Regions from separate parts of the Homo sapiens genome. Here region 1 is linked to region 2. Evidence: promoter capture Hi-C in 16 types of primary human blood cells and fetal thymus (Javierre and others, 2016). All regions are on one chromosome and are shown on one strand. Each heading gives the region's core, a stretch centred on a gene start or on the middle of the fragment in contact. The rest is flanking DNA. Distances are from core to core; before and after follow the strand shown.

Region 1 (3,024 bases), core at 345-2,844, 430 kb before region 2:
CAGGTGTGAGCCGCCACACCCGGCCTTTTTCTTTTTTGAGACAGAGTCTGGCTCTGTTGCTCAGACTGGAGTGCAGTGGCATGATCCCTGCTTACTGCAACCTCCACCTCCTAGGCTCAAACCATCCTCCCACCTCAGCCTCTCCAGTAGCTGGGACTACAGGTGCGTGCTACCACACCCAGCTAATTTTTTTAAAATTTTTTGTAGAGACAGGGTTTTGCCGTGTTGCCCAGGCTGGTCTTGAACTCCTGAGCTCAAGCGATCTGCCTGCCTCAGCCTCCCAAACTGCTGGAATTACAGGTGTGAGCCACTGCACGTGGCGTATTTTCTTAATAGCACGTGTTTCGCTCTAAAATTATCTTGGTTTTTTGGTCTCATTTGCATGTAATTTCCATGAGAGCAAAGACTTTCTATGTCCTGTTCGTGGCTGATGCCAGTGCCTAAAACAAGTGCCTAGCTCATTATAGGCTTTCAATAAATATTTATTGAATGAGAACCATAAATGAATAAGTGATAGCTAATGTATTGTCAGTGATACTGTATCTTCTAAAATATTAATAAGCTACTGTAAAATTAATTTCTCTTTCCTGATTGACTTTTCTTGGTTTTGTTCTCATTCCAGATGCTTGGGATGGAAGAAGTTTGAGTGACCTATCCTGTGTTTATCCTCCTTGCCGTAGCTGAGTTGATCTTTTTGAAACCCTCTTCCCAGACTCTTGGATTTATTTATTTTATTCCAGTGTGAATGCATGTTTTTTCCCTCATAGATGGCAGTTCTGGATTAGCAGTTTTAAGGTCTCAACTTTGTTTTTAGTTATCTTCCTTTAACAAGCTTCAATTTAAAATACTCCTTCTTTTCTCTCCCAATTATCTTTACTGATCCTTAGTTGTCTCTTTTTATTATCTCCAACAGAAGGAACTTGCTGTTTAGGTTTACTGAAACTAAAATTCTGAAGATTGCAAAAAAGTATATAGGTAAATGTGTGTAGATGAGACTTAACGTGTACAAGAATTCACATTAGGATTAAGGTTACTATTTTTATCTAGAATATGAAATTTGTTAGGAAAGGGTAGCACCTTACTATCTTTTTATCACCTTGATCAGTGACGTACAGTAAAAATTCAAACCATAAAAGGTTTGTTAAATAAAGTAGCTGACATCAGTATGCAGGATAATGAATTCTTGGTTTCCCCAAACCAGTATTCTAGAGTTGTTTAATATCTTGGTGTTTTTTGTTTCTTGTAACAAGAATTTTCACTTCACTGTCTGAATATACTGATCCAAGGAAAGCAAAAATGGCATTTAGTCAAAGATAACCTTGGAAATCCCTAAAGTTGCCCAAATATACATTATAAATATGCAGTCTCTGGAAGTCTAGCACTTCCCGTTTTCCCTCCACTATTGGAATAAATCATGTTTTCATTGTTAAATATCAGAGAAAGAGTAGGTTTGTGTATATGGCCTATAATATGGGAAAAATAAATGGCTCTAAATATTAGAATCTGACAGCATAGTAAGATGCTCACATTCTGAGAGACACTTGGGAAGTGAGACCCAGTGGAGAGCAGCAAAATTTAATCTCCTATTTTGTGTTGATTCTAGGCATATAATCAGTGAGCAGAAGGGCAAGCATAATCTCCTACATGGTTTAAATTATTTTTTTCTTGTCAAGTTCACTTTATGGGCTTGATGTCTATCTAGAGGTGTTCTCCCAAATTCCAACTTTCAGTATGCCTATACTGTCAGCCATTAAAGTGTCAGTAAGTCTTCCTGGTTTTCCTCTTACAACTCAAGTTCTCTTTCTTTAGTACATACTGTTTGTTTATTTGTCGAGACAGTCTCACCTATGTTGCCTAGGCTGATCTCAAACTCCTGGGCACAAGCAGTCCTCCCTGCATGAAGTGCTGGGATTACAGGCACGAGCCACTGCACCCAGCCTCTAGAACATAGGCTTTCATTACTATTCTCCAGATTACATATTTTGACTGACCTAAATCATATATGTAGAGTAAAAACAAATTTTATCTAAATAAACTTATTGGACTTCATTCAAAGAGAAATTGTTTCCTTGGGCAGTTTTGCTCCCAACATTAGATCCCGCATTCTCAGGACAGCTGTCATCTTTTTAATTTAGTTTTCTGATTTTATTTTTATTTATTTTGTTACTCCAACCTTTGCTTTGGCCTTTAACAACTCAGTGTTTTGGTCTAATCTTCAAGAGGAATTTGAGGTTCACTTGAATAAGTTAGACTAGTTTGAGGTGGGTGTAGCTAGAGGATTGAAGTCGTACCAAAAAAAAAATGTATGTATATGTATATGTGGTGATCGTGGGTAGGGGGAAGAATTCAGAGGGAAGAAGCTTGTGGACGTCTTTGCCTGGACGATTTCTAAAAACTAGCTGACTCGTCATCTTTAAAACAACAACAATAAAAGCTATCATATGCATATGTTACTTTGTTTAATATTTACAACAACCCTTTGTGGTAAATATTTTCATTTTTCAGATGAGGAAATTCAGGCACAGAATGATTAATAATTTGCTAATGAGTCACAGCAGTGATGGGGATGTGGAGATTTAAATCAATGCATTTTGAGTTGCCTGAGCAAAGAATTCCAAAATTTAGGAAGTCACTATTTCTGTATTTCCTTCTAAGGAAAACCATCTAAAGTATATTTTTATCTCCAGTAGGCGTGGTCATTGTCAAGAGAAGGAAAGGTTGGTGATTTTATTAGGGTGATGGGATTGGGACTTAATTTCTCTTTGCTTTTTCTGTGTATTCCAGATTTTATATAGTGAACTTATTTTAAAAACCAACCAAGTTGATGTTTGATGTATAATTTATATACAATATGAGGCACACGTTTTATGTATAGTTGGATGAATTTTGGCAAATGTGTCTGTCCATGCAGTTAGCACCCCAATCAGGACATAAAACATTCCATCACTCTAGAAAGTTCCTTTGTGCTCTTTTGCCATCAGCCACCCACATCTCCTGCCTCAGGCAACTACTCATCTGATTTTT
Region 2 (2,808 bases), core at 260-2,759:
CATCACCATGACATAGGATCCAATTCAATATGTATTTACCTAGTACATACCATGCACCAGGCAGTGGGAATCTAACCGAGAAAGGAAAGAATAATCATTGAGCTTTTGCAGCACTAAAGAGATGCTGTTATACCAGATCTACACATCACAAGACTCAAGGCCATTACTCTCCTGGTCACAACGGCAGTGTTAACATGTGTCTGTGATTATTTGATGAATGCTCGTCAGGCTCTAAGCTCTGTGGGATCAGAAAGTGATGTGTCTCTTTTTCATCTTCACCATTGTGTCTCAGGGCTAAGCATAGTTTCTAGCACTTGGCAGCCATCCAATAGATACTGTTGGCTGAATGAATGTTACAGATGCGTTAGCGCTTTGTGGAAGTTATTAGCCCGTTTTACTGGTGAGGAAACAGTCGCAGAATACCCACAAATATTTCAAAGATCACACACAAATAACAGTCCTTAATACTAATAGCCCCTAAATAATAATGCTGCCGGAGAGAGAATTCCAAAACCGCTCAGCCGAATCCACAGTTCGGGCTCTTCTACCATGTCGGGCTCCTTCCCCTGGGTTGGAAGGGCTCAGGCTGGGGCGGGGTGGGGGAGACAGACAGGAGCCCCTGTGCTGGGTAAGTACCAGTATCTGCGAAGGAGGCACGAACCAGATGAGGCAAAGGTCGTGTCCCCCGCAACTCCGCTGAAATCCTGCCCACCGAGAGGAAGCACAATTATGAGTGAATGGGCTTGTGCGTCCTGATGAGAATCCAAAATCGAGAGGAAGGTGGAAAGAGCCAGGACGCGCTGGGAGGGGATGAAGCTGACGGGAGAAGAAAGGGCTGGGAAGAGGAGGGGTGTTCGGGGTTCTTCTTCTCGTCGTGTCTGCTGCGATGAGACACGATCCTGGGTCCCAACTGCAGGTGTCAAGGCGATTCAGTAAATGACACATGGCAGCCCCGGAGGGTTCGTTCACCTGCACAGGTGGGGCGTCACCGTGGCCTAATCAAATAACTTCTCCCCAATTTGAGGTGGGGCGGGGGAGAGAACTATTTTTGTGGGAAAGCGGTTTAGTAAATAAGGTATATTGGGGCTCTAGAGAGAATTGCAGTGCCACCACCATGGCTATGATCTCCGTCAGGCACCATTTCAACACCTCTCCAAATCAACCATCCCTACAACAGGATTTATTTTCCAATGAGCGAAATCCCCGCCCGCCAACTCCAAGGCGCTTGGATGCGAGCTCTGTGGGAAACAGCAGCGACGAGCAGAGGCTATTTTGGGTGTGGGAACGAGGAGGGAGGAGGGGCGGCGCCGCCAGGCTGGGCGCGGGTGCGCGGGGAAAGCCTCCAGCTCGGGCTGCCACGGCAACCGCGTCCAGGCAACGCGCCCGGAAGCGGCTCCGGCGGCGCGCGGCGGCTCGCGCCCCCCGGGAGCCGCGAACCCGGCCGGGCCGCGCGCCGGGCCAGGCGGCAGGCGCGCGCTGATTGGACGGCGCTCCCCGCGGCGCGGGCCCGCAGCCGGGCGCCCTGCTCAGCCAGCGCCAGCGGCCGCCGCACCCAGCCGCGCCGGCGAGGACATGGGCAGCCGCGGCGCGCCCACCCCCCGCGCCGGTGAGTGCCGCGCTCTGGGAACCCCGGCCGGGCGGCCTCTGGGGCTGGGCGGCGGGAGCTCTCTGGGACGGCCGGTGACCTTGGGGCAGCCTCTCAGGAGATAGGCGTGGGGTAGAGAGAGCTGCGCGTGGCCCATGTGACATGCCGCGGGCGAGAGGGTTAACTGCATGTGACGCGAAGGGCTGAAGTTGGGCACAGAGCGCAACTGGCGTTGCATTTTCGCGGGGGCTGCATGCTAGCGAACCAACCGACGCCCGGAGGGACTGTTTGGGGGAGCTGGGGTGGTGCACGGATTGCCAGGGGTAAAGGCGAGTCAGCCGACCCACTACTCAGAGTGAGTGACCTTGGGTAGGTTAACCATCTGCTCTTCCGCCCCTTCGCTTTTTCTCATCTTTCAAACGAGAGGCTAGGGGGTCTTTGCAGTTCCAGAATGCTGTTGTGCCATCCTACTGCGAGCTGAGAAAGAGCCCTAAAGTACGGTTCTGCAGGTACCGGAGATGCAAAGCTTAACCATGTTTATTCTAGGAGGGGTTTCCATTAATTGGCTCCTAAAGTGGTAAGAAATGTTATCGTTGTCTGGAAGATTATGGAGCAAGCAGTCGGTGGTCCGGAGAATGGCTTCTTAAGATGCACAGGTTAAAACCTCTTTGGTGCCCTAAAGACATGAACAAAATCAGGATTAATGCTCCTAAGTTCTTCTTTCCTGTAGTTAATCTAATAGGAAACTTTGTATTTGAACAGGTAAAATCAAAACCCAATCGTGGCAGGCAGCAGCAAATTAAGTGAGTCATTTCTTCAATGTGCACGAGGTTTATGTGTGTGTGTGCGCGCGTGTGTGTGTGTGCGTGTGTGCGCGTGCGCTCTCGTCCTCAGCTCAAAGTCTGCGTACGGCAGTGTTGGAAATTATTTCATAGGAGTAACCAGAAATAATGCTAGAATGATTCGAATCCACAAAAGTGCAGCTCTCTCAGAAGCAAGGGCAAACATTTGCAACTTGCTTTTAAAATAAGAGGTTTGTAGAGTAAATATATTCTTTATTGAGAACCATCCCCAGATTTGCACATTGTATCTGCCTTCTGGGCCCTGTCACTGAATGCGCGTGTGTGTATGTGTGTGTGTGTGTGTTGGGGGGGGCGGGTTCCTTGGCACTTATAATATTTTTAGCGTTGACTGGTACTAAAAAGGACACTTAGGCCCCCTTC

Evidence for each region. Contacts are between HindIII fragments. The CHiCAGO score rates a contact against its expected background, and 5 or more counts as called.
Region 1: a contact is called between a fragment that was not itself captured here and the fragment with the promoter of FAM81A in region 2, in 1 of 17 cell types (total B cells). The highest score is 5.7, in total B cells.

Annotation. Positions count from the first base shown.
Region 1 is chr15:59,003,380-59,006,403 of GRCh38, forward strand. The region is part of intron 1 of RNF111 (ring finger protein 111); the gene reads left to right. Among named protein-coding and RNA genes, the nearest start is that of RNF111, 17 kb to the left of the region's middle. The HindIII fragment of the contact is 1,528 bases long and covers 831-2,358 here.
Region 2 is chr15:59,436,677-59,439,484 of GRCh38, forward strand. FAM81A (family with sequence similarity 81 member A) reads left to right here and starts at 1,510. Exons shown (of 9, transcript NM_152450.3): 1 at 1,510-1,606. RefSeq lists a silencer at 1,208-1,737. The HindIII fragment of the contact is 11,804 bases long and covers 1-2,109 here.